Regions from separate parts of the Homo sapiens genome. Here all the other regions are linked to region 4. Evidence: promoter capture Hi-C in 16 types of primary human blood cells and fetal thymus (Javierre and others, 2016). All regions are on one chromosome and are shown on one strand. The core of a region is centred on a gene start or on the middle of the fragment in contact, and the rest is flanking DNA. Distances in the headings are between cores, read along the strand shown. Region 1 overlaps LOC100506403 (a long non-coding RNA gene). Region 2 has its middle 90 kb from the start of MIR802. Region 3 has its middle 53 kb from the start of MIR802. Region 4 holds the start of LINC01426 (long intergenic non-protein coding RNA 1426). Region 5 overlaps LOC100506403 (a long non-coding RNA gene). Region 6 overlaps LOC100506403 (a long non-coding RNA gene).

The links. The method cuts DNA at HindIII sites, captures the fragments that hold promoters and counts their contacts. A CHiCAGO score of 5 or more calls a contact.
Region 1: a fragment that was not itself captured here is called in contact with the fragment with the promoter of LINC01426 in region 4 in 2 of 17 cell types (M0 macrophages and M2 macrophages); the score reaches 9.3 in M0 macrophages.
Region 2: a fragment that was not itself captured here is called in contact with the fragment with the promoter of LINC01426 in region 4 in 3 of 17 cell types (total CD8 T cells, erythroblasts and activated CD4 T cells); the score reaches 6.2 in total CD8 T cells.
Region 3: a fragment that was not itself captured here is called in contact with the fragment with the promoter of LINC01426 in region 4 in 1 of 17 cell types (monocytes); the score reaches 5.1 in monocytes.
Region 5: a fragment that was not itself captured here is called in contact with the fragment with the promoter of LINC01426 in region 4 in 2 of 17 cell types (total CD8 T cells and total CD4 T cells); the score reaches 6.0 in total CD8 T cells.
Region 6: a contact is called between a fragment that was not itself captured here and the fragment with the promoter of LINC01426 in region 4, in 4 of 17 cell types (non-activated CD4 T cells, activated CD4 T cells, naive CD8 T cells and 1 more). The highest score is 7.4, in non-activated CD4 T cells.

What each region holds. Positions count from the first base shown.
Region 1 is chr21:35,503,516-35,508,538 of GRCh38, forward strand. All of the region lies in intron 1 of LOC100506403 (a long non-coding RNA gene), which reads right to left. Among named protein-coding and RNA genes, the nearest start is that of MIR802, 210 kb to the right of the region's middle. RefSeq lists enhancers at 2,840-3,429, 4,673-5,023. The HindIII fragment of the contact is 4,746 bases long and covers 189-4,934 here.
Region 2 is chr21:35,628,824-35,633,506 of GRCh38, forward strand. No RefSeq gene overlaps it. Among named protein-coding and RNA genes, the nearest start is that of MIR802, 90 kb to the right of the region's middle. The HindIII fragment of the contact is 777 bases long and covers 2,308-3,084 here.
Region 3 is chr21:35,665,290-35,670,024 of GRCh38, forward strand. No RefSeq gene overlaps it. Among named protein-coding and RNA genes, the nearest start is that of MIR802, 53 kb to the right of the region's middle. The HindIII fragment of the contact is 1,553 bases long and covers 1,146-2,698 here.
Region 4 is chr21:34,744,196-34,748,652 of GRCh38, forward strand. It overlaps LINC01426 (long intergenic non-protein coding RNA 1426), which reads left to right and starts at 1,630. Exons shown (of 3, transcript NR_038885.1): 1 at 1,630-1,821. RefSeq lists enhancers at 1,509-2,010, 2,011-2,510, 2,717-3,011. The HindIII fragment of the contact is 11,220 bases long and covers 1-4,457 here.
Region 5 is chr21:35,419,310-35,424,269 of GRCh38, forward strand. All of the region lies in intron 2 of LOC100506403 (a long non-coding RNA gene), which reads right to left. Among named protein-coding and RNA genes, the nearest start is that of MIR802, 300 kb to the right of the region's middle. The HindIII fragment of the contact is 1,791 bases long and covers 1,403-3,193 here.
Region 6 is chr21:35,387,656-35,392,322 of GRCh38, forward strand. The region is part of intron 2 of LOC100506403 (a long non-coding RNA gene); the gene reads right to left. Among named protein-coding and RNA genes, the nearest start is that of MIR802, 330 kb to the right of the region's middle. The HindIII fragment of the contact is 392 bases long and covers 1,808-2,199 here.

The DNA of each region.
Region 1 (5,023 bases), core at 1,312-3,811, 760 kb after region 4:
GTAAGAAACTGTCAAACTGCAAAACGTGGTTTTGATTGCCATTATCATTTTGTCTCCTTTTTTTGGAATAATGATGTTTGAGAGTTAATCCAACCCAACTGGTCGTGTTATACCCACAAAAATAAAGGCTTCAGGGTAGAAGGAAGGGCAGGGGAAAGAGAAAGGAAGAAAGTGCATGTGAGAACATAAGCTTCTCAGGATTTTCAGCCAGTTTGTCAAGGGGGAGGGTTTCCTGTTTTTCTCCTCTGTGTTACAGACCAAACGTTGCTGGTCTCATCATCACAGACAAATTAAAGCAGCTGCCAGCACTGCTGGGAAGTCCTAAACCCAGCAGGCAGCTTCTCAGTTGCAGAGACACCTTTTGACAAATTCGACTCCTCCAGGGCCTGTTTGGAGGGAATGTGTGAGCTGTTCAGCTCTTGGGGCACAGCACATAAACCAGCAACAAGCGTCTTCTCTGCATCGTGGTTGACATGCATTTAACCGGTGAATCTGAACCCACATCTGTTCATCCCCATAACACATGGAACATGCTATGATTGTCAATGCCAAAAACCTGAAGTTCCAAAAAGCAGCTCCTGAGAGTTCCTTTCCTAAACAGTCTGGGGCTAAACCCAAAGCATGTGTCCCTTGGTGAGAGAGGAGGAGTGGGCTATACTCTCAGATATGGGGCCATAATCTTAGAAACTTCCCTGCCTCCCACCTCCACCCTCAGCCGCCAACATTAAACAGGAATAACATCGGAAACCAAAGGAGCCACCCAGACAAAACACAATTTATAATATTTTAATCACTACTGGGCTAGACAAATGTCTTCCAACACAAACTTCCCACACATCCTCCATTCCTTTTATTTTACTCCCACGAATCCATAAAGTTCCTCCATGGAGATATTGCAAAACCTTTGTGCAAACGGGATATAGCTTCCAGCTCTTTGTATGATTTCGTGGGAGCTTTGGTACAAAAGAGTGGTTTAGTATCTTGGAAAGTCTCCTTCCAAAGAGAAATGGGATGACATTGCACATTTAAGGTGTCAATCTAAGACTAATTTGCAAGTGACACCGCTGTACAGAGTATGTCAGTGCTAGAAGCGTAGGAACCTGGGTGGGATCTGCAGCTGGCTTCTGCTGAAGCGAAGTGTGTGTAAATTTGGAGAAAAAGCTCAGGGACTATGCATTTCAGTTCTCTCTTCTCTTGTGAAGGAACTGCCCTAAGTGTTCCTCTGAAGTGTATAATAAACTGAAAAATTTATTTACTTATTTTTATCAGTAGACGTCAAAAAGAAGCCTATCCTTTATATTAGAGTTAAAATTTGTACCTTTCTGTACCTGGAAAAATTCTCCTGATTTTTAAAACAGGTCTCCATACCTTTTATAAGCCACAACAAGGCTTCTTTGGAGGCAAGCCACTGTCTGGTGGTCTCAGACAGAAAGAATTCTTGCAGTAAGCCAGGCAAGCAGTACATATCTAACAACATCTATTCCTCCTCTTCTCCCTAACTTAATTTTTTTTTCTTTTTTTTTTTTTTTTGCCAGGAGCAAGTATCAAAGTATAGAGCCTTCAAAAGTGCTCTGGATTCCATTACAAAGAAAATCATGAATAATGCATCCCCACCTCCTGCTTTTATTTAATCTCAATCAGTGAGAGCTAGAAGTGCATTACTGTGTCCAGCTGCATCCCTGGCTCCGGAGGCTGGAACCTGGGGCTGAGGGACCCACAAGCCCCACAGGTGCTGTGCACCGCAGAGCCAGTTAACCAGCAATCCTGCTCAAGCCCCGGGAGACTGTAGCACCAAGGGCTCAACCCTTCCGGATGTCTGGCTTGCCATGGATGGTTCCTATACCTAGGGAGCTGCAGAACCTACTTTGAAACTGACACAGCCTGTGTATCCCGGGGTTACATCTCCCTTTCTCTGTTTTAATAAAGCTGTATTCCTAATAAAAGGAACAAACAGCCTATCCCACATGCTGAAAGATCATGACGAGAAGTCTGCCCAGTCTGTTATGATTCGATGTCCCATAAGCTAAGTCCCTCTGCACTCGTGCACATTGAGCACGAAATATAGGCAAATTGTTATTTCTGTCCATCAAGAGCAAATTATGATGATAGCTGGCTTTTGAATGTTAGAAACTATAGTGTTTTTCATTTCTGGGAGCACATCTTGTGTGTCACTATGTGCTATGCCTTTATGTTAAATAACATGTTTATGCTGGGATACAAAACAGTACGATGGCCACATAAAAAAGACTTCATAAGGTACATACATATGTCATATATCAACATATTTTAATTAGTGTAAGTTCAACATATAGAAAAAACAGCTACTCTTGGCTGGATGTGGTGACTGACTCCTGTAATCCCAGCACTTCAGGAGGCCAAGGCGGGTGGATCGCTTGAGCGTAGGGGTTCGAGACCAGCCTGGGCAACATGACGAAACCCCCTCTCTATAAAAACAATTAGCCAGGTGTGGTGGTACACGCTTGTAGTCCCAGCCACTCTGGAAGCTGAAGAGAAAGGATCATTTAAGCCCAGAAGGTCAAGGCTGCAGTGAGCCAAGATCACACCACTGCACTCCAGCCTGGGCCCCAGAGTGAGACCCTGTCTCAAAATTAAATAATTAATAAATAAAATAAACAAAAAGAAACAGCTACTTTTTGTAATTTGGAATCAGAAGTTTTATATAAGATAACACTTTTGAAATAATCAGGAATGTAAATTTATGTAAATTTAGCTGGGACTCTGTGTTAACATCTTTTTCGTTGTGCCTATTTTTCATGTTTTGCCATGCTAACATTTGCTATGTGCCCACACACACACGTGCAATTCTTTTCTACTCTATTAGCCTCTGGTTCTGTATGTTTCCATCATTAACTGAAGCATTTGCAGAACGAAATGGAGGTTTAGCACTTTGAGAGTTGTTTTATTTTTACAACCTTGGCAAAGCAAGTGTCATTGATTAAATGTCTGAATTCCAGGAGAGAGAAACTTGGCAGATTTTTGCTAGGATGTTGGACTGGTCCCAACCAAAGTAGAGATTGCAAGCGATGGTTCTTATTTTAATGTATGCTAATAGATATCCTGTGGCTTGTCATTGGGTCTCCAAGGGAAAAACAAAAAGAGTATGTGGTGTATTGGGGAGAAGGATAATAGTCTCTGCGTATAGGGTGGAGGGAGGAGGCATCCTGAAGATGAGCAACTGCTTCATTCATTTTTATCTCTTAGAGTAACATGTGCCTGTGTCAGTCCTTAATAACTCTTGTTCCAGAGTGTCCCCAAATCATTATTCACTTGTTTCACTAGTTTTGGTGAAAAATGATGGATCAAGGCTTCATCCTAGCTTGAGATCATTTTTGGATGCTTTTGCTGTTTTGACACCGGTATGTACAGCTGGATCCAAGGAGATACCACCCTTATATAGTTTCACTGCAGCCCACACTTGGTTTTGATTAATTTATTAACCCAAGATGCCCCTGGGGAGAGGGGGGTTACGGGAAACACCTTGAATTCTTTTGTTTTAACATTTCAGCATTGCTATTCATAGAAACTACCAAGCCTTTAAATCCCCTATCTGTTCTTGCCAGCAAAGTAAAATATGTTTTTAAGTGTTTGAAAACAAGGGAGAGTAAATGTGTTTTAAATGTATCACACACACACACACACACACACACACACACACACACACACACACACACTTTTGCCCATTATTGTTCCTGGTCACTTCTTACATCCAGAGGCTGAGAACTTAGACCTGCCCTCTGACCTCCTAAATTATCAGAGGTGAAACTCCCTTTTAAGCAAGATCTATATCTTGGAGAGTTTCCTCTCCCTCCTTGCATTCCCCAGGCCCATCTTTTCTACAAAGTGCTAGAGTGTCAGTTTTATGGGATGTTGAAACCTTCCCAGTATAAATTCTACCCGCATTATTCTTTTCAGGAAGGCTCTACAAACATTTAATAATAAAAGTGAAGTGGGTGCGACTCTTAGTTAATAAATACCTCATCTTGTGGGAAACATGAAGCCTTGAGCATAAAACCAGAGCTATCTTTTCATCTGGGCCTGTCCATCATCACAGTGCCCAAGTGCTTAATTTAAACTGCCACTTCGCCAAAAACCCAACTGGGCAGAGGATGCACTGTTCATGCCAACCACCGTAAGGCCAAATTATTCTATTTCTAGCAACAATCACCTTCCTCAGGAATCTATAATTTTCAGCTTATGATAAACCTTCAATACTTTGGATTTCCCGGGGGAAAGTCAATATTAAATTAGAAGGTAATTATATAGCATTTTGCATACAGGCTACATTTTTATAGTTACATAAATGCATACTTTATTCAAAGAGGTGTTAACCATATGTGTCCCAATTCAGTTTCTAACAAATTTCCTTTCACAAAAAAGATAAGAACTTATAATGGTCACGTAATACAGATAGGTTGTTTTAAGAGGTATGAGAAATTAAGTTGAACATCTTCTGGATATGTGCCTGATTTTGTTTGCCCAAGTCTTACCCTTTGAGCAGATGATGCAAACTATATATTAGTGACTTAGGAAATAATAGTATTTTATTATAAAATTAATAATTGGTCAGAAAGGAAACATCTGCCAATATCATTCTCCTTCAATGTCCTTCAATTCTGAAAAAATAACTCAGATGACATTTTTATTAATACTTAAAAACTGATACTTAAAAAATTCTTAAAAAAACATAATTACAGTCTGAAATATAATAGATTCTCAAAGAAAAGTACACATTCTCCTTTCCTCTTCATTTAGCATCTGTTGTTGGCCAAACAACAGATGACGCCTTGCCTTCAGGGTAAAAATCTAATTTGCATGTAGGCGCTTGAATGAAATTAAGCTCCACAAGGTGTGAATAACAAGGGGTGGCCTGCTCTAGTGACAACAGGCAGCTCTTCTCAAACAAGGACGTTGAAAGCTTGTTAGTGCTAACTGAACTACTTTGCAGCGTATATCCCCATCTGGAGGCCGACATCAAATTTGAGAGTCACAAAGAAACACAAAG
Region 2 (4,683 bases), core at 1,446-3,945, 890 kb after region 4:
TATTCTCCTCCTACCCACAAAGATATTGGAAAAGTAAATTGCGTTTAAGGAACGCATTTTTTCAAACAAATGTATGCCATATAGAGCAATAGTATTGTTAACTTCTAAGAAGGTATGTTCACTTTCATGTGATCGAATAGGAAAGCTGCAGATAGGATGTTTAGTAAAAACTTTTATCAATTTACTCATTCAAGCCTCTCTCATGAACTCATTCCTTTTCAATGTATGGCTTTCAGCCATCATCCTGGAAGTAACTTCTATAAAGTAGAATTGGCTGTAGCGATTTTGAATTCCTCTCACAGAGACAGATAAATGATGAGCTAAATTTCATTTCACTTATGAATGAGACTGGAACGTGAAGATGTGCACCCAGAGGGTCACATAAAAGATTATGTGAGAAGTCAGTCCTGCTCCTAGATCCTGAGCTGGATCAAACTCTGAAGAGCAAAACAAAATCAGAAGGCACTGTTGATACTAACTCAGCAGCCAAGTCTTGAAGACGCAAAACCCAGACTGCCCCAAAAGAGAGAATACTGTATACCGTGCTTGAAGGGTACTCTGGCTAACCATGCTATTGCCATTGGGATATGGAAAATAGCAGTATTCCCTTCCAATTGCAGCTGTAACAAATGACCACAAATTTAGTGGCAAAAAAAAAAAAAAAAAAAAAACCCAGAACATAAACATCCCAGAGATTAATTCCCTTACAGTCCTAGAGATCAGAAGCCCAATGTAAGTCTCAGGTAGCTCACATTGAGATGTCAGCAGAGCTGCCTCTTTCTGAAAGATCCAGGGGAGAATTCGTTCCTTGCTTCTGCCAGCAACTGAGGGCAGCAGGCAGTCCTGAGCTCCTGGCCACATGGCTCCAATCTCTGCCTCCATGGTCACACGGCCTTCTCCTCTCTTGGAGTCAAGTCTTCCTTTGCCTCCCCCTTGCAAGGACCTTTAGGATTGCATTCAGGGCCCGCCCCGATAATCCAGGATAATTTCTCCTTCTCAAGATCCTTAGCTTAATCACATCTGCAAAATCCCAAGTCCCTATTGCCATGCAAGGTAATATACATGGGTTCTCGAGATTAGGTGTAGACATCTTTGACGGCCATTATTCAGCCAATTACAGACACATCATCAGATAAAAATAAGGTGTGCCAAAAATAACTATAATACAAGGCTGGAAGTAAAGATGTTCTAAGAGAAGTACAGATGGAACCACGTGGAAGTGAGAGAGAGGATGAGTCTTTCCCACCAAGAAGGGTCAGGGAAAGCTCTGAGGGCTACAGGACATCATCTGGTTTTGAGAGACTGGAAGAATTCAGAAAGATTAAAACTCAAAACATTAAGTAAAAAAATCGATAGTCAATACTCACCCCTCCCATGAGGCACACACATCCAAAATAAAACAAAACAGCTTTTTAAAAAAGAATGATGTTGGGAGAATTGTGGACTTGTCAGCCGGTAACCAACGGTGCAAATTGATAGTAAGTAAGATGCTCTAATTCTGGAATCAACAGAACAAAATAATCAAGAAATAAGGTATCTTATAAATAAAAAATAAATATAATGGATGGTTTTTATTTTATTTTTAAGAAATATTTCAAACGAATGAAAAAGGGGTAAACCATTTCATAAACAGCCTTGGAGTGGGCAACTGATTAGTGTGTGTGTGTGTGTGTGTGTGTGTGTGTGTGTGTGTGTATATGCGTGTGTGTGTATATATATACACACACATACGCATATGTATGTATATATACACACACACACGCATATGTATGTATATATACACACACATACGCATATGTATGTATATATACACATACATACGCATATGTATGTATATATACACATACATACGCATATGTATGTATATATACACATACATATATATACACATACATATATATGTATATATGTGTGTATACATATATGTATGTGTGTACATATATGTATATATATGTGTGTGTACACATATGTATATATGTGTGTATATATACACACACATACACACACACATATATGCACACATACATATATTTAGATTAGAATCAATCAACAAAATTAGTTCCAAGGGAATTTAAAAATTAAATGTGAAACATCAACATATAAGAAATCAAGAAAAAATAGATATGTTTACCATCACTGGAGGAGGTACAATTTATTAAACTTAGAATAAAAACATTAACATATTTAACTGTGTTATAAATGTAAGCTTCTGTTCTTCCAAAAATAAATAGAAGCAAATTAAAAGGCATTTTATTTGGGGGGAAATAGAGGAGATATTACATAGACAAAGTACTAATATTCTTAAAAAGCTTAATCAGATTGAGTTTTAAAATACTGAAGCCTCAATAGATAAACTGGCAAAGGATGTGAATAGGCAATTTCCAAAAAGGAAACTCTAAACAATCAGCAAATGTGTGGAAAACACTTTCCTTCACCAGCAATCAAAGAATGACACATTAAAATAAAAATGAAGTAACATTTGACCTCTATCAAATTAACCAGATATTTTTTTAGAAAGATCATGATCACCGCCACTGCTGAGGGCACTGTGAAAGGGTACTCTACAATATTGCTAATATTTTGATATAATCCTTTTGGAAAGCAATTTGGCAAAGAGCCTTACGATGTTTATTTTCTCCAATGCAGTACTTACACTTTTGAGAATGGAGCCCAAAATAATCCTGACTATTGAGAGGCATTATTTTTAATAGCAAAAAAATTCAGAAGTAATCTAAATCCCAGACAAAAAAGTAATAGCTACACAAATCCCATATGTTCACTCCATTGGTTATTATTTAACTTTTTAAAAATTATATTTAGAAAGAATGTGCAAATATGGAAAATATATGTCAATGTTAAAAAGCAAGAAAAAATATTGTATTCATAATATTTCTACTTAGATTTTTTGTAAAATAAATATTAGAAGCACATATAAGAAAATACTGTGTTATGTCTGTCTCTAGATAGTGAAACCATGAATGATTATATAAATGTTACATATGCTTTTTAAATTCTCATTTTTTAATTCAAAGGCTTTCTTATCCTTTTGTTGTCATTGTCAAATGCTTACAGTATGTTACATAAAGCTTTATCTAAAACTAAATTTTTTAAATGACCAAAATTAAAGTTTTTCCTTCCATAAGATGTTCAAGAAATAATTTTTTATTTCTTTTTTGTAAATAATAACTGGGTTTTGTATTTACTTTTTTGTTGCTGGTATCTAATAATGCAAGAATTATAGATTTGAGATTTCTCTCAAGAGAAAATCCAGACCTCTTTCCTTCTAAGAAAATTGTTATCTGCTACAGCATTTTAAATCTGCATTGATTATATCACAGCCATCATAAAGTGTTTCTACTTGCTCATAATAGCCCCCATAAACTTTAAGTTTCAAATAAGAAATGATGTGGTTTTGTAAAAAATCTAATCATGCTTTTTGGCAGATGTGTATCTCGAGATAAATGCTAAGTTGATTTCACGATTTTTAAAACACTCCCCAATATTAATATCATCTATGAGTATAATCTTATTAGCAATTAGCTTTTAAACTGTTTGTTCTTTGAAGGTAACATTTGCAAATCATTTGAAGAAATTCATCAAATGACTCCCCACTGTTGGATTTGGCAAAAATGGAGTTTAAAGTTGAGGGAAGGGGCAAGGAATGCAGGATCTAGGGATCTCGCCAATTTGGGAACCAAAAACCAAAAGAGAAATTCAAGAAGGAGGTGCCAAGGCATATCCTGAGTCCTGGATCCTGAATCAGGGAGCCAGTTGGTGTTGAGAACCCAATGGAGCATTCTGTCCTGGAAACCAGACATGGAATACAGCTGAGAATGAGGTTTGCTTGGGGGATTTTAAGAAAAGGAACACACTTTTGTTCCCTGGTGATGTCCAGTCCTGCACCCTCTCCCTTCTGCTGGGCAAGAGCCACCCCGATTGTATCTTCTAAAAGAGTGCTGTGCAGCGAAACTTTCCATCATGGTGGGAATGATCTATATCTGTGCTGTCCAATGAGGAGCCCCGAGCCACCTGTGGCTCAACTTGGAACATGGCTTGTGCAACTGAGAAACTGAATTGAAGGCCGTCTTGGCCACTGAAGGAGCCCCATTCCCACAGAGCAGGAAGGCTGCCCTGGTCAAACATGCTATTGCCTTTAGGATGCAGGGGAGCCTTTGAATAGCTTCTTTCAGTTCTCTTGCCTGGTTTCTAGCTGTGCTGGATCGGGGGGAGGCTGTGGCCTCCTGATCACTATGACATCCTAAACAACATTACCAGGCTTTACCTCACCACAAACACCTCAACATTCTAGAAGAGCAATGACCACCAGTGCTGGAACCAATAGCCATATGTAGCTATTTAACTTTAAATTTAAATAAATTAAATTTAAATAAAATTAAAAATTCAATTTCTCAGTTGCACAAGCCATATTTCAAGTTGAGCCACAGGTGGCTCGGGGCTCCGCATTGGACAGCACAGATACAGACCATTTCCGCCATAATGGAATGTTTCCCTGCACAGCACTCTTGTAGAAGGTACCTGGTCTAGCAGATGCTGAGTGGGCCTAGTTTTCTCCTTTTCTAAGACACAGAAACATAGAGGGTCTGACTTAAAGAACCCCCACGGAAGAGGCCTAAGTGCTGTTAGCATTTAATTAATTAATTAAAATTTGCCTTCAGCCTCCTG
Region 3 (4,735 bases), core at 672-3,171, 920 kb after region 4:
CTATTCTCCCAAAGAGCCACGACAGCATTGATTTCAACCTATGATTGCCACTGAAATATTAAACCCTATTGATTTGAAACTCAGGATTAGTTGCAAGTTGGATACTCTGCATATTTTGAAGATGGGCAATTTTATTTCTTCTAGTTGAAGAGTAATCACAGCCTCCTGGTATTCTTGTTTTTTGATGTAGAACTTCAAATCTGATTTCTTATTTGGTTCCCTAAAATTGTGAAATGCACTATGTTCACTAACTAATCACTTTACTCTTTCAAATGAAGCCTTCATACTTCTGAGTGTGCCGGTGTGAAAATACACATTCTCTCCATTATCTATACATTGAATACTGTCATGATGATTCCTCCACCTCCCCAAACATCAACAAAAATCTTACTGGCTATAAGTAAAGATATCGTATTCTGAGTAGGCATTCAGTAGAATAACTTTTCTTTTACTAAGCAGAGTTTATCATTAGTTTGATGTCTACTGAAAGCATACCACTACATCTAAGACTCCCATTAGCTTGAAGCTCACCCCAGTACATGGCTACTACTGAAAATTTTTGTCCTAAAATGCCCTCCAAGAATAGAGCATCGGACTGCTGAAATAAAACTTCTCTGGATAACTCAAGACGGGATCTGCAATGGGTTGTCTGAAAACCAAGTTCATCTGAAGATGCAAAAGGCTAAAGACGTGGCGATCAATTGTCTCCCAATTCTTAATTCATAGCTGCATTAATCATAAGCCTCTCCAAAATAAAAACAGTTAAACATTTTGAAACAAAAGACATTTCAAAAAATGTATACACTGGCGAACATTTTTACTTAATAGACATATATCTATAGAATAGCTGTATTCAACTTTAAAAGCTGTTACTCTAGTGTGTACTAAATAGAGCCCAGAAACACAAGGTCCCCTTCCCTCTTGCTTCACCAGAGGTCTCCCCAAACCCTGACCCACATTCCTTACCCCTCCCTAGTGTTCATCCAGGAGGGAGCCCAGTGGCAGAGCCAGCTGTCCCAGTAGCATAGCGGTAGGATGGAGTGAGAGTAAGGCCCTGGGGGAAGCCGCAGCCCCGCAATCCTCAGACTGTATTTTCCTCTGTCTCCCACACCACCATTCTATGACCTTCCTCCTCCTTCACACCAAGCTTTGGCATTACTTCTAAGATAAGATGTCTAGAAAGTGGAGCTGCAGGGGTCCCTTTTGAAATGTAGGTGAGATGTCCTAAGAACCTATTCCCAATTTATTCTTTGATCTATCCCTTCCTTTCTCAAGCAGCACTCAAAAAACCAGTCTGACATCTGCAAGCCATGGCAGACAGAGATATAAACCTGTGATCCTAAGAGTATTCAAGGGAAGTCCTGCTGAACTTAGCCTTTCCCAACAGGCTCACAGATAAAAAATGAGCAGGTGAAGAGCAGACAAGCCCACTCACCGTTGTCTGTGTAGCTATCAACTTGAGCAAATTAACAAAATATTAAATTAAAAGTAATGGCAAAACCCACAATTACTTTTGCACCAACCTAATAACCATTAAATTAAAGAAAGAACTCGGGACTGTAAGCAGTTCATCAAGGAGTCTTACGACATTGGGTTAGAAACACAAAATGCTTGTATTTCTCTAATTACTTCCCCCCGCCCTTTGCTCTGTTGAGTCTTCTTTTTATACTCCTTAATAGTGTCCTGGGTGGATTCCGTACCTTTCTAGTTGTTTAAAATGTGAAAGTGATAAGGCAATTAATGAAGGGCCATTGCAAACCTTCAGTCTCAATCTTGTTTTCAGTCGTACGCCCTCTGTGTAGACTTGAGTAGGACCTTAAATGCTGAAGGGTGGGGCAGTGAGGCAAACTCTGCTTCTGCAATGCCCACTGTCTACTCCCGGTTGAGCTCCTCCAGTTGATAGGAAGGGGCCGTGTCTCTATTCACTTATGTGACCTCTGATGGCATTCTCTCTCAGATGATTGCTGCAGCTGTACTGGCTGGTTGACTTGCAACTTCTCTGAGGGGCAGCATCTAAGCACTGTCTCTCTTATGGGAACAAGTTTGAATTCTCCAGCAGGCTCTGAAGGCTCTGTCATCTCCCTTCCCTATCTCCACCTACTGCACAATTCTGTGACATAGGATTCCTGGTTCTGGCTTGACCTCTCCAACCCCTTCTCCATAGCTCCCTTTACCAGGTGCAAATCCCATAGCCTTCTACTGCTAGGTTCCCTGTGCCCAGTGAACATCCCGCCTTGTTGGGTACGAGCAAGATGACTCAAACCCAGCTGTCATTCCAGGGTGTCCACTGACCCACAGGAAACCCAGCCATCCTTGCCATGTGGTTGGTATGTGGGCTTCCAACCCCTACCCATCCTGCTCCCCGCTCCATTTCCCTCCAATAGGCAAATCAGCAAGTCTATCACCTAAGCCAATGTCCAGCTTGGAAAGGCAAGACTCCCTTCCTTTCCCCCAAGGGCACCCCCAATTTCTTAGTACTGCTTCCCCAGGTATCATCCCACTTGTCTTCATGGTGAGACTTCATTATAAAGACAGGAAGAGGTGATGGGTGGTGGCTGGTGGCAGCATTTTTGGTTCCACGAAGTTCTCTGTGGTGCAGATCTTGATGCCCTCTCTAGAATGTGGGCATTCTTGATGGCTTTTGTTTCAAGTCAAGCCTGTATTTGCTAGTTATGGGACAACCTAAAGAGTCTCACTAAGCTTCTTTGCATTTGTTTCTTAAAGCTTACATCACAGATAATAACAAACAGGGTAGTTAAACAACAGAAGTTTATCCTTTCCAGGTTCTGGAGGCCAGAAGTCTGAAATCAAGCTGTCGGCAGGTCCATGCTCCTTTTGAAGTCTCCAGGAGATGATCCTTCATTGCCTCTTGCAGCTTCTGGTGACCCCAGATATTCTTTGGTTTGCAGGTGCCACACCCACGCTCTGCCCCCATCCTCACATGGCCTCTTCTCTTTGCCTCTGTGTCCTCTCCTTTTCTCATAAGCACACAAGTAACTGAATAGAAGGCCCACCCTAATCCAATACGACCTCATTGTCATCCATTACATCTGCATAAACTCTGTTTGTCATTTATTTGGCAATAAAAGTCATGCAGATTATTGGCTCAGAAAGGTGTCCCTAGATTCTTCAATTACCCTGGACCCAGGAATACCCAGCACCTCACTCCTCAGGCCCTGACTCTCCACTCCCTCCAGCTACCATGTTGTAGGTGCAGGGACCCTGAAGGCCACCCTGGCTTTCACAACCAGCTCCTAGCAGGGGGAGGAGAAGCCTTCTCCTGTCTCTGAAAAGAGAAGCTATTTGTTGAGACACAGTGACATTCTCAGTATATTTTCCCACAAAGTCAGTGTTCCATTGGTCTTACATCTTCTGGCCCTGTTGGTATTACAGGACATGGCTCAGCTGGGCTTTAGTTAGCTGTCCTGGGATCCTGCCCTTCTTTCTTTGAGAAAGAATATTCTAATGCCCAAAACTAACTTCTAAATGTGCCTTTTCATAAGGTGGGGATTCCCTCTATTACTACTATTGGGGAAAGATTTTTTGTATAATAAAGAAATAAACACAGACATGTCCAACTTGACATATCAAGCCAGAGGAGGTGTATTAAAGGTTGAGGAGCTCATATAGGAAAACTATTATTCATCATTTATTCATCATTAAATATAAATTGTCATCAAAAATGTTTTAATATTTTTTATTGTGTATTTTTAAGGTGTACAACAGGATGTTGATATATACATATGTAGTGAAATGATTACCACAGGTAGGCAAATTAACGTATCACCTTTCATAGTATATTTATTCATTTTTGTCTTCAGAGCATCTAAAATATATTCTCTTAGCAATTGTCCAGTATATGATACAATAATTGCCTACAGTCCTCCTGCCGCACATTAGCTCTCTCTCCAGACGTATTCACCCTGCATTAACTACACGTTTGTACCATTTGATTCACATCTCCCCATTTCCACCGTTCTACTGTTTTTATATATTCAACTTTTTCTTAGATTCGTCATATAAGTGAGGTCGTATGGTATTTGTCTTTCTGTACCCAGCTTTTTTCACTGAGCACAATGTCTCCTGGTTCCTTGATGCAGTCACATATGGCAAGATTGCCTTTTTTTATTATTTTAATTTTTGTGGTTACACAGTAGGTGTATATATTTTATATATTTATGGAGTACATGAGATATTTTGATACAGGCATGCAATGCACAATTAACACATCATGGAAAATGGGGTATCCATCCCCTCAAGTATTTATCTTTTGTGTTACAAACAATCCAAGGTTATACTTTCAGTTATTTTTAAATGTACAACTAAATTATTACTGACTATAGTCACCCTGTTCTGCTATCAAATACTAGGTCTTATTCACTCTTTCTATTTTCTTTGTACTCGTTAACCATCTCCACATCCCCCTAAAGATTGCCTTATTTTTAAAGGCTGAATAATATTCTTCATTCATTCATCCATCAATGGACACTTAGGCTGTTTCCATATTTTGGCTATTGTGAATTACGATGCAATGAACATGGGAGTGAAGATATCTCTATGAGCTCTTGATTTCATCTCTTTGAGTATATACCCAGGAGAGGAATTGCTGGATCATATGGTAGTTCTATTTTTAATTTTTTGAGTAATTCCATATTGTTTTCCATAATAGCTGTGCGAATTTACATTTCCACCAAGAGTGTATGAGGGTTCCCTTTTTTCCACGTCCTCATCAACA
Region 4 (4,457 bases), core at 380-2,879:
AACGCCAGCTCCAGTGACTGCCGCTCCATCTCCTAGGCAATTTGCATCGCTGTTTCTGTTTGTTAGGCCTTGACCATTCCTTTGTTGTCATCCTGCGCTTCCCTGGCCATAGGCCTTTTCCCAGCCCCACCACGGCATGCCCACCTGTGCTTGGGGAGGGGCGGAGGAAGGAGCCCCAGCCAGCCATGTCCCTGTTTCGTGCTCCAGTGACCACTGCTATGAGGACTTTCCCACTGGCTCAGGCTCAGTTAGTCGAGCTGGTGTGCCCCGCTCTTAGCTGTTCCCCAACTCTCCTAGAGTGTGCTAATTCTGACCCAGCTCTCCCAGGTGGAGGATGCTTTTCAAACATGTCCTTGGGAACCTCTGCAGACCCATTCCCAGCCCATTCTCCATGATTCCAGGCCTGGCCAGGTTGAAAACTTCTGTAAATTAAAACTCAAATAAAGAGAGTATAGCTTGGGCATACCTTTTGCACATGCATATATATGTATGTGTGTGCATGTGTGTGTGTGCATGTATGTGTGTGCATGTATGTGTGTGCATGTGTTGGGATTTTTTATTTTTTAAATTTATATTTATTAAAAAAATTTTTTTTGAAACAAGGTCTTCTTCTGTCTCCCAGGCTGGGCTGCAGTGGTGTGATTATGGCTGACTGCAGCCTCAAACTCCTGGGATCAAGCAACCCTCCCACCTCAGCCTCCCAGAGCACTGGGATTACAGGTTTGAGCCACTGCACCTGGCCTATTTAAAAAGTTTGTCTAGAGCAAAAAGTCCCTAGACCTGCCAGTCCAGGGCACTAAATCACAAGAACACCAAGGCCAAACAGGCTTGAAGTCTCCAGGCTCCTCACTGGCAAACTCTACTTCCTGATCCCTTAGTGGGTTGAGGTGCCAACAGCCCCCTGGGGAGGAGGGGGTTGCATTATGGCCGTGGAGAGACTCTGAGCCTTATCAACGGTGTGGGGATGACACCCTTTTCGGAGCACTTTGTGAGGCTTTGTGCCATGCTGGGCGCTTGGCGTCAGAGACAAATAGAATCAATAACTGTGCAAAAAAAGTTGCCAGATAATTTATCCCATTGGCACCGAGCCTAGAATTATAATCAGATCTTGACTTCTTCAAAGCCTTCTTGCTTTGGATTTTCCAAATCGAAAATAAATATTGGGGGCAATTACCTTTCCTTAGTTCTCTGATGTATGAAGGGGAGTTTTCATCTATTAATTTAAGAACCCTCTCATTTCATTCGGAAGGTATTAGCCCATGGAACTTGTTAACTTAATATCAACACAGTCTGTCTAGGTTTTGACTGAAAAGAGAAAGGGGTTGTTATGCTCTAGGTTAATATTTTCCTCTCTTTAAGAAGTCTTGGGTATGCCAGACACTTCTCGGACAAAAACAGCTGTTTTCTTCCCATTGCTGAACGCATTGTTTGTGCGAGTTCACTTACTTGCTATACTCAGAATATCCTCCAGGAGTCAGCAAATCCCAACCTCTGGACGTGGCTCAGGGCCGCCCTGCCCATTGCTGAGCTGATTTGGAATTTGGGCCTGAGAGAGGAAGTGATTATTGGATGACAGGCTGCCTCCTAGGGGGCTTCTCTGGGCTTGCCATGAAAGCACTTCCGGAGGAAAAGCAGAGCTCCATCAGTCTCTTTTGGAGAGCTGTGAACGTGACCAGACCTATTAATTACTTAACTGAGGTGCTGAACTTTGAAAATGAAAGTTCCGGTGGGGAGTTCTGTCCTTTCCAGCCTGGGGAGCTCTGTCAGGGCTCTCCTGAGCGTCTCTTTCAGCTTATCAAGCTCGCTCGGGGACCGTCTCTGGTAAGTACAGGCAACCCCTCCAGCCAACCCCTCCACCCTGTGGGCCGGGGAAGTGTCTCATCGTTGAATCCACTTGCAGGCACTTCCTTGATCTCAAGCCCCACCACGCTGCCCCCAGAGTCCCAGCGAGTGGCTCAGTCACACTGGTGCGTGCCTCTCACCCGCTCTGACCTCGTCATGGGGTCCCCGAGGTGCTGGTTCATGCAAGGCTCTGTGCCTAACCAAGCTAAACACGGTGGGGCTGGGAGCAGAGGCTCACACCTGTAATCCCAGCACTTTGGGAGGCCAAGGCAGGTGGATCACCTGAGGTCAGGAGTTTGAGACCAGCCTGACCAACATGGTAAAACCCCGACTCTACTGAAAATACAAAAATTAGCCAGGCGTGACATCATGCGCCTGTAATCCCAGCTACTCGGGAGGCTGAGGCAGGAGAATCGCTTGAACCTGGGAGGCGGATGTTGTGGTGAGCCAAGGTCGTGCCACTGTACTCCAGCCTGGGTGACAGAGGGAGACTCCATCTCAAAAATAAATAAATAAACAAACTGGTACAGTGCCCTAGTGGCTTTGTGGCTCTGGCTGGGGGAGGAGGGTGGGTTGCATAACTGAGCAGCACCTCCAAGCACGATACCAACACTGCCCAGGGCCTGGCAGAGTCTACAGCTGGTCCTTATCCATGAAACTGGGGGTGAGGGGACGGGGACTGGCGGGGGGACAAATCACCTGCACAAGTGGAACAAAGATACAGGAGATAATGACAGCAAATGGAACGTAGAGTTGATGCGTTCATTGACAAAGAATTTCACACCCTGCATTATCTCACTTGAGCCCCATGAAGAGCCTGTGAGGTGGCTAGGGATGTGGAAGGAGTAGATAGGAGAGGCACAGAACAGGGGAAGGAAGGAGTGGGGCTGGGAGTGAGGACCAGGAAGGCAGAGCTGGCCCCTGGACAGGAAGAAAGCCCAACTGCCTCCCTCCCTCCCATCTGCCCTCCTGCCTGCCCTTTTCCAATAAGATGGAAATGCTGAAGGGGTTAAAAAGACAGCATTCTAAAAGCTGAGATCCTAAAATTGTGACCTCCCCTGTGATCTTAGCCTTCGTGTCAACAGCATTGAAAATGAACCTTGGTCGGGCACGGTGGCTCACGCCTGTGATCCCAGCACTTTGGGAGGCCGAGGCGAGTGGATCACCTGAGGTCAGGAGTTCAAGGCCAGCCTGGCCAACATGGTGAAACTCTGTCTCTACTTAAAAAAAAAAAAAATTGCCGGGCATGGTGGTGGATACCTGTAATCCCAGCTACTTGGGAGGCTGAGGCAGGATAATTCCTTGAACCCAGGAGGCAGAGGTTGCAGTGAGCTAAGATTGTGCCACTGCACTCCAGCCTGGGCAACAAGAGTGAAACTCTGTCTCAAAAAAAAAAAAAAAGGCAAAAAGAAAATGAACCCCTGGGAAAGTAGGCCTTGACCACTCTGCTGCTCTTATGGAGTTCATTCTTGGAGATGTCGTGAATAGATCTCCTTTGCATCCAGATGGAAGAGCAACAGGAACATTATTAAGAAACTAAAAATTCTAGATTCATTGGAAAAGGCTTTGAGAGAGAAGGGACAGGGAAACCCCTAATTCCACCTCCCTGAAAACAGTGTGTTTTCCTCTCCTACACCAGGGCCGTGTGTCTTTCTGTCTACGTGGCCCAGCCACATTTGTAGCCCGTGGCCTGATGGAGCTCTGATGAGTCAGTTTCATGTCATTTTTTTTTTTTTTTTTCAGAGAGAGAGTCTCACTCTGTCACCCAGGCTGGAGTGCAGTGGCATGATCTCGGCTCACTGCAACCTCCGCCTCCTGGGTTCAAGTGATTCTCCTGCCACAGCCCCTTGAGTAGTTGACGTTACAGGCACCCACCACCGCACCCAGATACTTTTCGTATTTTTAGTGGAGACGCTGTTTCACCATGTTGGCCAGTTGGTCTCGAACTCCTGACCTCAAGTGATCTGCCTGCCTTGGCCTCCCTATGTGCTGGGTTATAGGCGTAAGCCACTGTGCCCTGCTTCATGTCATTTTTAAAGAGCCCACACAACTCCTGTAGCTGCATTACGACAACCTCAACGGCAAGACCTCGACGTGATATTACTCCACGTGAAAGTCTAAAAGGCGCTGAGCACAGTGCTCTGCCAATGGTGTGTCTTCCAGCCTCGCTTGCTGAGAGAACAGATGTGCCGGGGAAGAAATGGACAAAGCTGGGAAAGGAGTCTAACTTCTTCAAAGCGGTTGGGCACCGGTGAGGCTCTTTTGGTTACAAACCACAGAAATGGATTCTGGTTTATCAGTTTAATCTCGGTGTAACTAAAAGTGGGAAGTACTGGAAGGAGACGCATTTCATGGGCTCAGAGGTGACCTTGGGGCACTGAGTTGGCCCTTCTGTGGCCAGGTGTCCCTCTCTCGGGGACCTGCCTTCCCATGCCCCAGTCTCAACTCTTGGTGTCTGTCTAATCTCAAACTCCCAAGAGACTGGATTGGATTAGATCAGTGTGGTGTAGCAAGAGGCACTGTGTGTGTGTGTGTGTGTGTGTGTGTGTGTGTGTGTGTGTGGTGTCATTAGGGAGATCTCAGAGAACAACCACCTTGGCCAACTTGTCTATCTC
Region 5 (4,960 bases), core at 1,048-3,547, 680 kb after region 4:
GTGGGCCTGCACTAGAAGAGACAGTCCCAGAAGGTAGCATGACATATATAAAAAGTCAAGATGCCAGGCATAGTGGCTCATGCCTGTAATTCCAGCACTTTGGGAGTCCGAGGTGGGAGGATCGCTTGAGGACCGGAGTTCAAGATCAGCCTGGGCAACATAGCAAGATCTTGTTTCTACTTAAAAAAAAAATTTAAAATTAGCTAGCTGTGGTGTCTCAGCTCTCACCTGTAGTCCCAGCTACTGGAGAGGTTGAGGCAGGAGGACTGCTTGAGCCCAGGAGTTCAAGGTTGTAGTGAGTTATAATCATGCCACTGTAGCCCAGCCTGGGCAACACAGCAAGAAAACACAAAAATACAAGTCAACAGCTAGGACATCGTTTGGAACTACGCATACGTATATAGATCTGCAACCAGCTTTTTTCAATTAGCAATATATTCAGAGAAAAAATTTGTATCAGAAAATATGGTAGTGCTTCATTTTAAGGCAACGCCATGGTATCTGTATTAGTCAGGACTTTCCAGAGACAGAACCAGTAAGAATGGATGGATAGAGATTTGATACACAGAGGATTGACTGATAGGTAGACAGATGACAGATAGATGGTAGATAGACAGACAGACAGATAGATAGATAGATAGATAGATAGATAGATAGATAGATAGATAGACAGACAGATAGACAGACAGATAGATAATGTGATTTATTTTAAGGTATTTGCTCAGGGGATTGTAGAGCCTGGCAAGTCCTGATTCTACAAGCAGGTTGGCAAGCTGGGTCCCAAGGAAGAGCTGATGCTGTAGCTCTGGTCTGAGGGCAGTCTGGAAGTAGATTTTCTTCTTCCTCTGGGGATCTCAATCTTCTTCTCTTAAGGCCTTCAGCTGATTGGATGAGGCCCACCCATGTTATGGCAGGTAATACACTTTACTAAAAGTCTACAATTTAAAGTTTAATCATAGCTAAAAAATAGCTTCACAGTAACATGTAGACTGGTGTTTAAGCAAACACTGTGCACCATGGCCTACCCGGGCAACACATGAAATTAACCAACAATAACCATGAAATTAAATGTAACCATTACAGTTTAGCCACAGTAATTTCTATAACCAGCTTCTGATTGATACAGATTTTTCCTTATTTTTCCATTATCATGAATAATGATACATACAAATAAAAACATTATTTTATATGATAAATGATGATATAGATTTTATATCCATATATGACATGATACTGTTACATGATAATATTGTATTATTTTAACATGATAATATAGATATTTCTGTTGCATACATTCAACAAAGTGGACCTGCTGCTCAGAAGGTATGTGCACTTAACAAATCATAATGGATACTGTCAAACTGCCTCCCACAAAGCTTCATTCCACAACAGCATGTGAGAAAGCTTGTTTCCCTACATGCTCTTGGACACTGGGTATTTCCAAGAATCACAATATTTGCCAATACACTTTTCATGAGCATAGCCAAGGGAAGTGGGTAGAAATGGGAGCAAGAGCAGTAGTGGCTGGAGCAGGCGGGCCCTGGGACTTTCTCCACACAGCAAGCATGCTGCCCACCATGAGACATTAGAATGATTCACCAAGGCAGTCAATGTCTTAAAAACGAGAAGCACAAAAGAAAGGCATTATGTCACTCAGGGAACATTGGCACAATTTTCTTTCTTGAGATCCCAGCTGATCCTGCCTCATCCTTCTGCAGAAATTACAAAAGGAGTCACCCCAGGGGGATTCTCCTTCAAAATGTTCTTTCAAGGACACTTTTCGAAGAGGAAGGGAACTGGATTAGACCACTCTTGCATTTCTACACAGACATACAAGATGGGAAATTTATAAAGAAAAAGAGGTTTAATTGGCTCAGGGTTCTGCAGGCTGTACAGGAAGCATGGTGCTGGCAGCTGCTCGGCTTCTGGGGAGACCCCAGGGAGCTTTTACTAATGGCGGAGAGCAAAGCGGGACACTTTGGTATCCCATGGCCAGAGAGGAAGCAAGAGAGAAAGGAGGGGGATCTAAGTTCCTTGAAACAACCAGCTCTCATGTGAACTAAGCAAGAACTCACTCATCATCAAGAGGATGACGCTAAGCCATTCATGAGGGATCTACCCCCATGACCCAATCGCCTCCCACCAAACCCCACCTCCAACATTGGGAATCATATTGCAACATGAGATCTGGAGAGGACAAACATTCAAGCCACATCAGGAACCTGCCTGAGCTGCTGGGAACTCACCCTCATCTACCCTCTAGCCAGAAGCTCCATGTGGCAGGCACTGTTCACACACTCTATGTGCATTGACCTAAATGAGTTAAGTAGAATGTTTCTAACATTTTAGAGATGAGGAAACTGAGGCACAAGGTATTCAGGTATTGACTACGATCATACAATTGAAAAATTGAGAAGCCAAAATTCAAACCTATATGGATTGACCTGGGGCCTGTGTGAGAGGTTCCACTTACATCTATGTAAGGTTTCAATTGAAGAAAGGGCTCAAAGGCAAGAAACATGAGCAAACTGCTGCTCTCAGTGGCGCCAGAAGTGACACCCTCGGACTAGGAATTTGAAGAAAAGCTCCAGAGTAACATGCCAGGTACACACACATGCACACAGGTGCATGCTGGTTCATGAAAGCACCCATACTTTTCCCACTCAAACTGCCATAGCATCCAAAGTCTACCATTAGAAATTCATGCCTATTCTTCACTACCCTTTCTTCTTTTAAAATTCAAATTCCACATCATGTCAGATTACAGCAATCATCAGTTTATTTGATCCCTGTGAGAAGATGATCAGATTCAAACTTAGGGATAAAAAGCAGGAGGGTGCTGGGTGAACTTAGAAGGGATGGTGCTAAGAGAAACATGGAGTGCTAAAAGAAGACCCACAGATGCATTCCACCACTTTCTGGAGTGTTCAGACCTGTCTGAGGATGTCTGGCAGAATGGTGGGGTGCAGCTGCCTGGAGTCAATTTGCATGCAGGACCCAGGAACATTCTGGAAAAAAGCATGTGCAGATGTAATACAAAGGTAAGCAGATAAGGCTGGCTTGACCAAGTGCCTGCTTCCTGAACTTTCTGAATGTAGCAGGGTCTGTTTTCACTACAGATTTCCTAAGACATCTGTGCGTAGGTCCTGCCTTGATGATCCTCTCATGGCACACAGTGACCAAGTGGGAGAGAAGCTTCTCCACACTTAAGAAGGCACCTTGGGTGGAGAGAACTCCAGAAAACAGACTAGCCTCATCACCCCAAGACCCAGAGATGCTGTAGAGTGCTGGTGTGCCAGTGGTCATGGGCAGAAGGAACCAGGGCACGAGTGCTGGTGCCCAGGAGAGCCAGGGTACCTAGGAGAAGAGGCAGAGGTCCTCTGTGAACAGGCTGGTGGTAACAGAAAGCAGTGTTTGATGGGTGTATTTGAGAGCACCATCATTCACTAGTAAATACTTGCTCAGAAATATGTGAGGGAGACTTAAACTGAGAACTAGAGATGAGGAGGTGAGGTAATGTCATCTAGGGGAGGTGACAGCAAAATGTGGAAAATAATTTTCCTATTATTATGAGTGAATTGTGTCCCCCATGTCCCAAGGTTTGTATGTTGAAGCTTAGTACCCCAGAAAGTGGCCTTACTTTGAAATAAGATCATTGCAGATATAATTAGTTAAGATGAGATCATACTGGCTTAGATCTACGCCAAAATGACTGATGTCCTTATAAAAAGAGGAAATTTGGTGGATGCAGTGGCTCTTTCCTGTAATCCTAGCTCTTTGGGAGGCCAAGGTAGGCAGACTGCTTGAGCCCAAGAGTTCAAGACCAGCCTGGGTAACATTGCAAGACCCTGATTCTACGAAAAATGCAAAAAATTATCTGGGCATGATGGCACATGCCTGTAGTCCTACCTACTTAGGAGGCTGAGGTGGGAGAATTGCTTGAGCCCAGAAGGTCAAGGCTGCATTGAGCCATGATTGTGCTACTGGCATTTCAACCTGGGTGACAAAGCAAGACCGTGTCTTTTTAAAAAGAAAAAAAATGGAAACATAGACATGCACACAGGGAGAACACCATGTGAAGATGAAGGCAGATATCTGGGTGATGCTTCATAAGCCAAAGTAATGCCAGGTTGCCAGAAATCCACCAGAGTCTAGGAGAGAGGCACACAAGATTCAGCCTACAGCTTCAGAAGAAACCTTCCCTGCTGACACCTTGATCTCAGTCTTCCAGCCTTCAGAGCTAAGAGATAATCAATTTATGTTGTTTAATGCAACCCAATTTGTGGGACTTTGTTACAGCAGCCCTGGGAAATGAACACAATGAGGAATGTAGCTGCATTTGTACCCACAGGCCAATGTGACCTGGGTCAGCCAACATCTGCAACTAGAAGCTCACCTTGAAAATCGATGCTCCTTAAACTCATCACCAGGACCTGATTATGATACAGTCAGCCAACTAATTACTGCCAAGAATAAGAAATAAAAGTTTTCTGTTTCCACCAGAGTAAGAAGGTCCAGCTGTTCCATTAGGAGCAGTGATTAATCCAGTTTTGAAGAGCTGGGTATTTCCTGTTGAGCTAGGTCTTTCCTCTGGGGAAATTCTTATTTTTCACAACCAAGGAAGAAAGTCTTATTCACTATATGGCAGGAACTCAAGAAACATGGTATTGAGGATGTTGATGACAGAGATGATGGGAGTAGTAGTGGTAAAAATAGAAATTAGCCATTTCTTCAATAATCTTCACTATAAGAGTTGGATGGAGCACAACCATCTTCCATGGAAGTTGTTCCTGTTTTCTCATTTCACCTTCTGACATCACTTGTAAAATGTATATTAAGACAGCAGCATACTATTTTTTGAAATGAGACACTTAAAATACCCTGAATCAAGTAAAAATATGAAAATCTTTAAATTAATAATAAGGACTTGCTGGCCTTCAGAACATTCATTTGAGCTATT
Region 6 (4,667 bases), core at 754-3,253, 640 kb after region 4:
TAGCACAATATAATGTATCTTGAATTAATAACACATCATATAAAAAACTAACAAAAGTATAATTTCATTTACCTTCTCCCATCCATTGTGTTACTATTGCCATATATTTTTCTACATATGTTATAAACCACACATTTTTATCATTTTTATTATTCTTGCCTACAGAGAAATTAATAATTGAGAAAAGAGCAACTTTTATATTTTCCCACATATTTATAAGGTATGTTACTCTTCATTTCTTCCTGAATATCCAGATTTCCATCTGGTAACATTTGTCTTCCACTTGCATAATTTCCTTTAACATTCTTTAAAGTATAGGTCTACTATTGACACGTTCTCTCAGTTTTGGTTACCTGAAAAATGTTCTCATCTTGCTTTTATTTTCACAGGCTATATCTGCTATATGTAGAATTCTATGTTAATCTTGTTGTTGCTTCTTCAGCATTGTAGAGATATTATTCCATTGTCTCCTGGTTTATACTGTTTTTGCAAGAAGCCTAAAATAATTCTTATCATTCTTCCTGTGTATCTAATTTGGTTTTTTTCCTCTGGATGCTTTAAATTTTCTCTTTAGTTTTTATCAATTTTATTATAATGCTCCTAAAAATTACTTTGTTTTGTATTTTTTTGTCTGGGATTATTTGAGCTTCTTGAATCTGCAGATTGACATTTTTAGTCAAATTTGGAAATGACTTGATCTTTTATCCTTCCTTTTTTTCTTATCTTCTCCAACCTCTCTCCTTATTTTTTAGGATTTCAATTATAAATATATTAGATCACCTGATATTGTGCCACAGGTCACTGAAGCTCTCATCATATTTTTTCAATCTCCTCCTCTCCTTCTCCTTCTCCTCCATCTCAGTGTTTCAGTTTGGGTGGTTTCCATGGACCTCTATGTTAATTCACCCTTTTTTTTCGTACTGCATTTTCCAATCCCCATTAAGGCCATCCTGGGAAATTTCTATTTCTGCTATTTTATTTTTAAGTTATAGAAATTTTATCTTGTTCTTTTTGATAGTTTTCATTTATCAGCTGGTAGTTCCCACCTGTTCATTCATTATGTTGATATTTTCCTTTAAAATTGGAACTTCAACTTTGGTTCATTAGCACCCCAACATCTCTTAATACTATGTGTCCTCAGGATTCTCCATTCTCACAGTCCCTAGCAACTATATTCTGCCTGGCCTCATGGAGTCTTATCTGCCCATACAGAGCTTAGTATGTCACTCAAAACTCCAGGGAATCCCTATGCTGATATATAGAACTCCTTCTCTGTGAGGTTCCCCTCTATCTAGTGCCTCAACCAACAAACTCAGTTACTAATGCTGATCCAGCCTCTGGTCTGTTTCCCCCGCCCAGTGTTGGTTCTGCTTCCTTGTGTCACAGGTTGGAAAGCATACCCAGGCAAAAGACTGAGTTGAATGTGGGGTTCACTTTATGTGTCTCCCTTCTTTTGAGGAGCACAGCCTTGCATTAACTGTAGAGTTTAATATCTGAAAATAGTTGCCTCAGGTATTTTCCTTACTTTCATGAATTGGCAACTATGTCTAAAACTCATTAATTCATCACGGCTGCAACTGGACATCTCATTTAGCATTTTATTAATAGTAGTGTAGCTAAAAGGTTATCTATAAATATTCTACTTCATTCAGCTTTTTATTGTAGTAGGTTTCTTTAATTTGGTATTCCAAAGACAATATGATCCTTAAGCTTTCAAATACCATTGTATAGAACAAATGTTTATCAAATGGTCATAAAATAAATTAATGAACAAAAGTAAATGTAATTTTGTTTTGTTATTTCTAAAAGCTTTTCACTTTTCATTATTTCCCAACTGAATTTGCATTTTTAGGTTTGCTTTCTCCTTAGCTTAATCTGTTTCTGTTCTGTTTCTCCTGGTGGAGGCTGGGATAAGGATGTAAGGTCAACACTCATAGAGTTTCCAGTCTAGAGACATAAAGGGGCCAATTAAAACAATAAGAATATAGTCTGTATCAGTGGGACCACTGAATGAGACCTTATCTCTAAATAATAATAATATTTTTTAAAGTATTTGTAAGAGAATCTTATCACTTAATACAGTGAACACTAAACATACAATGAACACTTAACAAATGTATAAAAGATTGGTCTTTTGCTCCTATTTTAGTTTTAAAACTCAGTTATTGGAAAAGGCATAAGTTAACTAAGGAAAATCAAAGCTTTGTTTTACTTGTATTTTGCATGCTACATGGAAATTGTCACAATAAGAAAATATTTATGAGATTAAATTGACTTAAGAGCAAAGATACATTGTTTTTTAAGTACCCTATCAAGTTATTTTCAGAATATAGACTGGGAATATGCCCTGGAAAAACATCCAACTATTTAAACCTACAGTAATTTACATTGATTTCTGTTGCCAGCTATTGCTGCTCAATGCTCAACATTACATCCTGTGTTGAGGTGAGTAAGGTAATGAAGCATTAAGTCAGGCCTGGACTGAAGAACAGGCCCCATTTTGGCTGCATGCCCATGAATGAACATATGTTAGGGCACAGCCAAACTGGCAGTGTCTGGCATTTCTTCCTGGCGGTCGCCACAGCTGACCTTTTTTTTTTTTTTTTTTTGTAATACTGTGAATGTGTGCGTGTTCCAATAACTCAGCTTAAGTTACGCCTTGGAGATGCAAGACAGATCTTTGGCTTGTCTCTAGCTGAGCTTTCCCTTCAAAATTTCTGGCATGCTTTAGAATGAAGACTTAGACATAATTTGAGACACATCTTTTATTAGGACCCAACCATGAGTTGGTCAAATATAATAAACTTCCTTCTCCCACAGATAGTAAATGGATCTTCAACTCTACTAGCACATTTACCAGTCTGATGAGACATGTTTTAAATTTTCCAGGAGAAGGGACCTCTATCTATCAGGCAGCTGTCCTGGGAGCTCTGCCCTGACTCATAAGTACCACGAAACTTACTAAACTCACAGCCTCTCAGAGAGGTTTCCATAAACTGACCTACTTTTTTCAGCAGTCATTTCACAGAAATACTAATGTTTAGGTGGTGATTTTGTATTGTCATCTAGGTGGACATTTATAAATATATTTTCAATTGTAGGATAAGACCAGGCTCAAGAATAAAGTTGATCAGCTTCCAGCATGTTCCTAAATGTCTAGACATTCACACTTCTTTGTAAAGAAATCCTTTATATTAAAAAAAGTAAGACATAGAAGCCCAATAGGCAGGAGAAGAGAATGATTCTTTTGGGAACCAAAGGATCCAGAAACTTTAATGTCTTCTTTTCTCGTCCACAGATGGTTACAAACACAATTGTAAAGAAAATTGATTTCCAGTGGCATCTGTCTCCTACTTCCAGGCCCCTTTCCTCATGCATTGGTTCTGTTTCCCAACTACCTCTTCCATCTTCCCTTCAGGCAACCTCTGTATTGCCATGCTCCCTTATCTTTTATCAAAACCTTTTCTTAGACAAGGTCATTATATCAGTCATTCACACCTTAGTATGAACTAAAGTAGATGTCTTACCTTGATAATTATATTGTACACCACCTTCCTCCACTAGAAGGAATTTCTACTATCGGAGTATAAAGAGTTATTTAAGATAAAGGAGGAATTTCTTAGCACCACTGAACCTGAAAACTTACTCTCCTAATACATAAGACCATCTCTGGACTACCCTAACCATTTACTCTTGTATTCAATCTCTTGGCCAATACTTAGGATAAAATTAATTCTGGGACAACAGTCTTGAGCATGATGAATATGGTATTTGCCACAGGGGTTCAGAGGAGGAAGACAGCCCTTCTGGTTGAAAAAATCCTGGAATTCTTTATGGAGGAAGTAAGATTAGTACTGAACCTTGAAATGTACATCCTAGAATCTCCCTCTGTTTCTGCAGCTGTAAAATGTTTGTGGTGAGATTTGACTAGAACAAGGTGCCTAGAAGAACCTGACCAAGACGCTCTACTGGTTGACTGCTGGAGTTTGGAATTTGTAGAGAAGATAGAATTACAGGTAAATTTTGGCCTCACTGTGTCATTTTTAGAGGCCACCTTCAAAATATCCAGCTAAGTGCACGTTTTTCTCCTGTTGTTCCATGTGCACCAATCAACATTTCCTTTGGGGTAAATCCCCTTAAGGCTACCTCTGGGAACTGGGAGAGGCTGTGTAGCCCTCTCTCATTGATTCATCCCTAGACCTGATCCCATAGTTGATGGGCAGACAGTAGCCTGAGAGATGCTAAGAGTTGGGAAAGGTAAATAAAGTAACAAAGAGACAGATGATGACAATGTAAAAGCCAGTGCAGACAACGTACGCACATCTATTTATCACATTTTTATTGAGTGTCTCTATGCTGCATGCTGGTGTGATAGTATCTGTTGTGGGTTGAATTGTCATGGGTTCAACAAAATTCATATGTTGAAAGTCTAACCCCCAGTACCTCAGAATGTGACTAATTTAGAAATGGGGCGATTATAGATGTAATTAGTCCAGATGAGGTCTTGCGACTGGCCCCTAATTCAGTATGACTTATAAAACGGGGAAATTTGAACACAGAAACACACACACTCAGGGAGAATGCCACATGAAGATGAAGACAGAGATGGGGTGATATGTCTAGAATCCAAGAAACACAAAAGATTGCCAGCAGCCTTCAGAAGCTAG